2 separate regions of the Homo sapiens genome follow, and region 1 is linked to region 2. Evidence: promoter capture Hi-C in 16 types of primary human blood cells and fetal thymus (Javierre and others, 2016). All regions are on one chromosome and are shown on one strand. The core of a region is centred on a gene start or on the middle of the fragment in contact, and the rest is flanking DNA. Distances in the headings are between cores, read along the strand shown.

Evidence for each region. The method cuts DNA at HindIII sites, captures the fragments that hold promoters and counts their contacts. A CHiCAGO score of 5 or more calls a contact.
Region 1: a fragment that was not itself captured here is called in contact with the fragment with the promoter of RAMP3 in region 2 in 1 of 17 cell types (M1 macrophages); the score reaches 6.6 in M1 macrophages.

The regions. Positions count from the first base shown.
Region 1 is chr7:47,180,145-47,184,182 of GRCh38, forward strand. No RefSeq gene overlaps it. Among named protein-coding and RNA genes, the nearest start is that of SNORD151, 280 kb to the right of the region's middle. The HindIII fragment of the contact is 1,284 bases long and covers 1,907-3,190 here.
Region 2 is chr7:45,155,729-45,159,727 of GRCh38, forward strand. It overlaps RAMP3 (receptor activity modifying protein 3), which reads left to right and starts at 2,063. Exons shown (of 3, transcript NM_005856.3): 1 at 2,063-2,158. The coding sequence starts at 2,101. The HindIII fragment of the contact is 23,160 bases long and covers 1-2,792 here.

The DNA.
Region 1 (4,038 bases), core at 1,299-3,798, 2.0 Mb after region 2:
GTGCCCTGTAACCTGGCAATGCACCCGGAAAACAAAGCGTGCGACCTCAAGGGTTATCACCTGCATTTTGCAGAAACCTAAGAGAAATCCACATCAGTTGCTTGGGAGAAAGTGTTTCCTCTTCATTACACAAGTTCTTCGTAGAAAATAATATATAATATTTCTTTATTTGGGTTTTCTTGGACAAATCCTCTATAGGGCAGCAGTTTCCCATGGCAGCTAGGCCAAGAGATTCCTGATCAGAGACTGCCATCTGCTGGATGAAGGGGATGGCCAGAGGCTTCTGTGCTTCGTTTTGTTTTGTTCTGAATTCTAAGAAACAAATTGCAGGGCAGATGGGGTCTGATTAATGCAGAAGGGAGTGCTTTTGGCATTGATTGACAAGGAAATTGGCTTTTCTGATGCAACCATAATGGATCAGCCATGGTTACGGCTTTCCCCTGTGTTAGCCCTCAGTAGGGTTATGTCTACCTCATTTGGCAGAAAGTTAAGGCTCAGCGAGGCTAAACCACAAATACAGAGTTACCCAAGTAATAAGCAATAGAACTGGGACTGGGACCTTGGACTATTAGATCCCAAAGATGCTTGATCATCCCAGAGTGAGTCAGAGGCAGTTAGAGGATGAGATTCTTAGGCAAGGAAGGAAGTGAGATGCTAGAAGGGTCGCAAGGAAGAAAAAGAGAGAAAGAAAGGGAAGAAGGTTGGTGGTGGGACCTAAGCTCCAAACACTCTCCGTCCTCACCAGGATGGCTCAGGATGAACCCAGAGCTCTCACATAGATGGACAGACTCACAATGGCCAGGAAGGAAAAAAAAGGATGAAGACCACAAGTAGGTATAACCATGCACTTGCAGAGAAGAGGGGGCATATTGGGCTGTGAGATTGTATAACCAGTGCATCAAGGGACACGGAATCAGTGGCACCATTTCCTGAGTCTGCAGTATAAAGGTTAGCTGGCTGCCCAAGGAGAAACACAGCAAGTCAAAGAGAGGTCAGAGGTTTCTCCCTGAGGTCTTTATACAGAGATCATGATGTAGCGTAGTCAAGGACAGCCTCACCGATGTCCTCATGGCGAGCAAAGTCATGCATTTTACAGGGCTCTGTCTTAGAATGTCCCTGCAATGTACATTACATTTTAGGAGCATTCAGGAAAAGTACTGCAATAAAAGAAAGCCATGTGGTCCCCAGAGCACTCTGATGATGTGGCTTAAGGCTGGGACCAAATGAACAGTATTGAACACTAGCAAATGCCTAGGTGCTTGTCTCCGTGAGTTTTCTTTGCGACGCATTTTGACAAGCGTGGGATAGCTCTGAGTTTGACATTTTATCTTCTGAGATGAAGCTGGAGAGAAGCCAGTCCAGGCATCCCGTGCTGCAGTGGCTTTTAGGGGAGCTGAGGACGGCAGTCTTCCTGTGTCCAGGCCCCCCAACCAACCTCCTCCACAGATGGGCAGAAGAATCTCAGTGAACTGCATTAAAATTGGTCTTTACCCCATGAAAGATTGGCAGTGGTGCAGGAAAAAGAACAAAGGGCCAAGCCTCAGTCTCCCCATCATCAAATTAGAAGAGTTAGCTAGATCCGTGATTTCAAACTTCCCTCAATCCAGCTCCCTGCTCAGCCCTGTCCCAGCCCGGCCCCAGAGTCCTTCCCTGAGTGCTGCAGCTGCAGCAGGACTGAGAATTCCCACCCTGAATGCTACAGCTGCTTCCCAAGTATGAAGCTGAACAAATGAATTTTCTCACCAACTTGCTCACATGTCTGACCTGACAGTGCACCTGTACCTCAGCTCCTCCTCTCTGCAGTCCGCCTAGGGCCCTCCCCACTACACTAAAGAGAGGCGTTACCTGTCCTAGGAATAGCACACTGTTCCCTGCTCTCCCCCCACCATGCCCCAGCAGCTTCCCAAGCTTGGCATTCCTACCAATTCATGTAAGCCAATCCCAAAGGACTCTATTTATAGTTTTCAAATATTGGCACATGAGCTGCTTCCAGCCTGCCAGGTACTTTCTGAGAAAGAACACAGTACAGCTCTCTCTTGCTCGCTCTGCCTCTCTCCCTCCTACCTCTCTCCTTCTGTGTGTGTCTCTCTCTCTCCCCAAATGCTGCTTTTAAGCCTATCAGCCCCTTCACCAGGGACTGTGAACACAAAGACCAATGCAAAAAACATCTTCAACTGAAGCCATTCCAAATTGGAAACAAGCCACCATCCATGGAGAGTTTGGGATGGTTTGGAAAAAAGTATTTTGCTATTGCCAAAGTTCTAATTCAGCATCCTTTGAAATCTTACATTCAAGAAGTAGTCCTTATATAACACAAATTTGGTGAGAACATTCCAATGCTCATCATTCAGGTGTCAGGAAAAGATCCAAATAATAAAAAACTTAAATGAGTCCTTATTTTTTTTTCCACTGGGGCACATATGGCATTCACATGTAAGAAACACTCATAAATGTGTGCCCAGTATTACCCACGACTCACTGGAACCCCAGGCCAGGGGTGGGGACCACAGACACTGAGTGATGGTACAGGAAGAGGAAAGGGGTAGGCCTCCTCCACTGGGCAATGGTTTACTTCTGTGACAACAGGGTCTCCATAGCACAGCATGGTGCCCAGCATGATGATGGGCATCGTTCCTGCACCCTGGGGTCCCCAGAGCTGTTTGGGGTCCCACTGATGGGATGCAAGTAGAGATACCGGACAAGAGCTGGAGTGAGCTGAGGCTGCTAATGTTGCCCCATGGCAGGCATCAAAAGTTTCTTCCTGCCCAGGCTGGGTTGGAGCAAGGAAGACCCTAAGCCTCCCCAGCATCTACCGTATTGTTAGATCTGGAAGTGGGAGCCCTCAGAGAGTATAACTTTGAACCCTATCACAAAATGCTGATATAAGACACAAACAGAGAGCATTCCCCTCTCTGTGCCTTGGCCCACACCTGGGATTGGTGGAGCCTCACATCTCTATGACCTTTAACCTTCACCATCACTGCAGTTGCCTGACTTCTCTTGTTGCCAGAACACACAGAGCTCATAACCAGGGAGCATTTGCAGGTATTTCTGCCTCTGTCTGGAATGCTCTGTCTCCTCTCCTTTTCACTCTGCCACCTGGCTCTCCCTGTTGGAAGGGCCACTATCTGAAACTGCCTTATGTCTTCATATGTTTCACGTGTGCAGCTGTCTCCCCTAGTAGAATGTAAGCTTCAGGGGACAAGGCACTGTTTTATTTATCACCATACCTCCTGCATTTAGCATGTTAATTAGTCATAGTATTTGTTCAATTAGACATGGCAAATTGATACTAGCTACTCTTTATTGAGTACCTATAATGTTGTCAGAGAGTTCACATGCCTTCTGGGAAGTTCCCAGAACAATTCCATGAGACACAAACCTCACACCCAGCTTCAGTCAAGCTGGAATACTATCATTAATATATGCAAATTCAGTAAAGGCAGCTTTATATGAAAGTAAGGTACCATTCCCTGAGCCTTCTAATGGGCCATCTGACCAGGGGAGCAGTGGGAGTAGAGAGAAGTGGGTGAGTCCCAGGGTCAGATGTGGAGGGTGAAGCATGTTCACATGTCTGTGCTCCTAGGAATGTACCCCTGCATCTGGGGTGATGCTTCAGCCTCACCCACAGTGCCCTACACACCTGTCATGCACCATTTACTGGAATGGGTTGTTAGGAGAACGTTCTGCACATTTACAGGGTTTAACCTTCATCCTGGAGAAAAATCACAGCCCTCAAGCTTCAAAGATTCTCATAGAAAATTTCTGGAAAATAGAGATCTCTAGAATTACAAGTCAGAATTGATGTGATTCTTCTGAGACTGAACTTGGAACCAATACAAATGAGAAAAAAGCAGAAAGAATGTGCGCCAGACCCACGTCTGCCCCACCCCCCGCCACTGCAGCCTTCTACTCCTCCCCACCCCGTCCTACAGAATCCAGTTCTGACCACCGCTGTCACTCAGCGTCTCTCCAGTTATCCCCAAGGGGCTCGTCAGTACCAGAGAAATGTAAACTAGAACCACGATCCAGTGCCCC
Region 2 (3,999 bases), core at 813-3,312:
CCCATGGCTCAGCTCCTCACAGCCTGTGTTAAACCCACCTGCCCTGCAGAGGCCATGGGCACCACTGGGCACAGAGAGGAGAAGTGAGGGCCCTGCCTTAGAGGGACCTAGGGGCAGTAGACACAACTCCCTGGGAGTTTGTTGGGGCATGGTTGGTTCCATGGAGGAGAGGTGTTGGAACCCAACTCTGTAGAATGGCCAGGGCTTCCCCACTGCAGAGCCAGGGTGGGGAGTCCAGGAAAGGGAGCATTGCTCCCTGGTGCAGGCTTGGGGGAACTGGCTGCCCCCCTCCCACCTGACAACCCCATCCTACTGTTCCAGCCTGCAAGCTATGTGCAACCGCCTTTGGGGCTGTGGGACCGAGTGGAGACTAAGACTCTCCTGGAGAGAGCTGTAGGGCCGAGTCTGTGTGGGATGTGGGTGGACACCTGGGCCTGGACCATCCTCTTGGTTTGTCTTGGCTGGTGTAGGGTGTGCGTGTGTGTAAGCCAGCCCCCTGCTGCCCTGGTCAGCTTGTTTTATGACCCCTGGCCTGTGGGCAGAAGGCCTGGCTGTGGGCACCATCAGTCTCACTAGAGGCTCTGTGGCCACCCCTACACCTGCTGCCCACCCCTCAGGCAGAAGGCAGGACAAATGATCAATTTTAATTAGTTTTGACTCCTTTGAATTAATTCTGGCTGTAATCAGAATTTCTTCAGTAAAAAAGCACAGAAAGTTCTTCTCCCGAATAAGGGTCTTGTTAAATAAAGTGGGTCTTTCTAAGCCAGGAGAAGTTCAGCTCAGCTCCTGGGAAGGTAGCAGTACCTACGGCTCAGAGGAGTGGAGGGCCCATCCATGTAGGAGCCTGGGCCTGTGCCCCAACCTCAGACCAGCATGTGCCCCCAGGGGTGGTGGGTGGGCCCTGGAGGGCAGAGAGGTGCCTCTAGCTGGCTCTCGGAAGTCCTGACCAGTGACAATTCTTAAGACACCATTAAGTGTCCACTGGAGCCAGGGCCTGTGCTAGGGGCTGAGGGTGACAGAGGTGACCCATCTGGCCAAGTGACCTGTGGCTGGAGAAACTGAGGCCCTCCTTCGCCTCAGGGACCCTGACACTCTTCAAGGCCAGGTCTTTGGTGGTGCCAGATACTCTCCTGTCCCTTGGTTTGCTTGTGGCTTGGTTCTTGGTGTGTGATACGTCTCTGTGTGTGTAGTTGCCACACCCTCCAGTCTCTCTCATACACACTGTTTCCCAAGCATACACTCACAAACACACCTTGTCTCAGACTCAAACACACACATGCCACACACACACCATACATCACACACTCCATGCACACACATGCATCTACACACACCCCACATGCACATCACACACACGTACTCCATGAACAACACACACACGCACACACACAGACGCACACACACACACCCCCCAACCTCTTTTATGCACTTTCCTGACCTTTGGAGACCTGGCTCCTAGATGTATCTCTGCTCAAAGTTCCCCTCCCTGCCTGGGGGCAGCTCTGGACTCTGGTCTACTTTCGGCCAGGGCACACCTAGCCCACTCCCAGGTCCACCTTCCTCCAGTCTACCCCCAGACTCCTCTAGGCCATCATCAGCCAGCGCTTCATCCTCACCTCAGCTCCCTCCCCGGTCTACCCCCACCCTCTGCCCCTGAGCCTGGACGGAAGTTCCCCAAGTCTCTCCAGCCTGCATCCCAGCCCACCGTCAGCCGGCCCCCACGCTCACCCCAGCTCACCTCCCAGTCTGCCCCTACAATCTGCTCCCAAAAAGCTCCTTTGCAGCTCAGCACCCCAGCCCCGCCCTCAGAGCCCATCAGCCGGCACCCCACCTTACCCCAGCTTGTCCCCAGCTCGAAACCCTGCCCTCGCCCCCCTCTCACCCCGCTGAGACTCCAGCCGCCCCCATCCCTCCCACCCGGCGCGCCTGCAGGGACTGCACCCCACATCTGGAGGCAACGGGGCACGGCCGCAGGCGTGGTCTGGGGGTGCGGCCTGAGGGCGGACCCCCTGAGGCCCCGCCCCACCCCAACCCCAACCGGGCGTCCCCCAGCCGCGCCCCCAGCGGGACCGAGCGTGACCCAGCTGCGGCCGGCCAGCCATGGAGACTGGAGCGCTGCGGCGCCCGCAACTTCTCCCGTTGCTGCTGCTGCTCTGCGGTAAGGGGGCGACGGCCCGCACCGGGGGCGCCCCCACTCCTCGGGGTTCACCGGACCCGGGTGGACCCGCGCCTTCCCGCACCTGCGCCGCGGTCCTTCCCTTGCCCCGGAGCTCGGGAGGGGCGCACAGTGACCCTGGCGGGATTCCCAGGCTCTGCGGGAGGGTTCCACCCGGGAGAAGCTGAAGGCGAAGGACTCTGGCGGGCAAGGGAGGCACAGGGCCCCCTCCGGGGTCTTCTGACGGCAGGGTCCGGCAGCCCCCGGTCCTTCTAGTTGTGATGTCCCCCCACGCCCCGGTTCTGGGGTCGCCTCAGGGTGGGCGAGAAGAGGTGGACCAGGTCTGGCTCTTTACCCCTTATCCCCCAGGGTGGGCTGTCTGTAAGGTAGTGAGCTCTCTGTCCTGGCATTGAGTGCCTGCCCACCACTCACAGGGGCGTGGGCGGGTGGACTCCGGACTGGGTAGCTGGTCCTCCCAGGGCCCCTCAGTGTGTGGACGCCTGTGTGTGTCCTGGAACTGGCTGAGAGGGGAAGCGGGGCGACTCTCTGAGCCATCCTCTCCTAATGCCTTCTTCGGCAAGAAATCAGGACTCTAGGAAGAACCATTGCTCACAAAATGGAAATAGATTAAACTAAAAGCTTGTTTTGAAGTACCTTGCTAAAGAAATTATCCAAGAAAAAGTAAGAGAGAGAGAGAGAGAGAGAATGTGTGTAAAGGCTGTTGGGGAAGAGTGCTTGCTGAGGGCTGGGGTCCACTGAGTGGTGACTGAGCCTGGCCAGTTCTGGGGGGGACATTGGTGATGGAGGGCCCTGGCCTGGTGGTCCCCAGTTTCCCTGGCTGTAAGATGCAGAGTTGGGCCTGTTTTGATGATTTGGGATTTGGTACGGGAGGTGGGAAAAGGGTGGACCAAACTCAGTGGTCATTTTCCTTCCATTGAAGAGGTCTTGGTGTGCAGAACTTGTGTGGCTTCATTTGGTGTTCCAGGGCTGGAGCCTAGGATGTGGTGGATTTTGTGTTGAAGTGCAAAGGTGGATGGCAGCTTCTGAAATCAGGAGCATGCTGATTTGGGATTTCAGCAAACTTCCAGTGAGCGCCCCTTAGGTGGAGATCTTGGTCGCTATAGTGGAAGGAAGGTCCTCTCAATTCATTCTGGGAGAAGCTGAGGCTTTCCTGATCATCTCCAGTATCAAATTGAGAAGGACCACAGGCTTCCGCCTGCACAGAATCCCCCCTTAATAATCCTGTCTCTCGTGGACCCAGTTCCTGAGGGCCACTTCTTTGTCCTGTTGTGTTGGTCCTGACTGTCCCCCTCCAATGGGACATGGGTTCACGCTCCCTGGCCAGAATAGGGACCAGGTCCAGCTTCTCAGCAGACCCTCCCAGTGTTCGACTGGCCAGAGTGAGATTCAGGGAGAGGTAAAACTTGCTCATGGTCCCAGGCCGATGTGTCAGAGGTATCCGGGACTGGAACCCACATCTGCCCTGGATGCTGCTGTGTCTGGAAGGAAGGAGCTGGGTGGGTTCCTCTTGACTGAGGACTAGCTCAGGAGGACCAGCAGGGAGGGTGCAGGCCTCTGGGGCTTCTTTGAGAATTCCAGACCTTTTTCCAGAAAGCATTTGATGCTGTGTGGGGCTGTGGGGATGCGAAGTCCAGCAGTTGTCTACTCAGCAGGACACTTTGCTGTGGTGCCCAGCTCTTGACTGGACTCTTCTGGTCTGGGTGAAAATCCTGATCATGATCCCAAGATTATAAAGCACTCACTGGCCTCAGTTTCCGAGCTGCAATGTAGATGTAATAATAGCAATCTGTAAAGGGCTGCTGAGACCGTCAGTTTGATTCCAT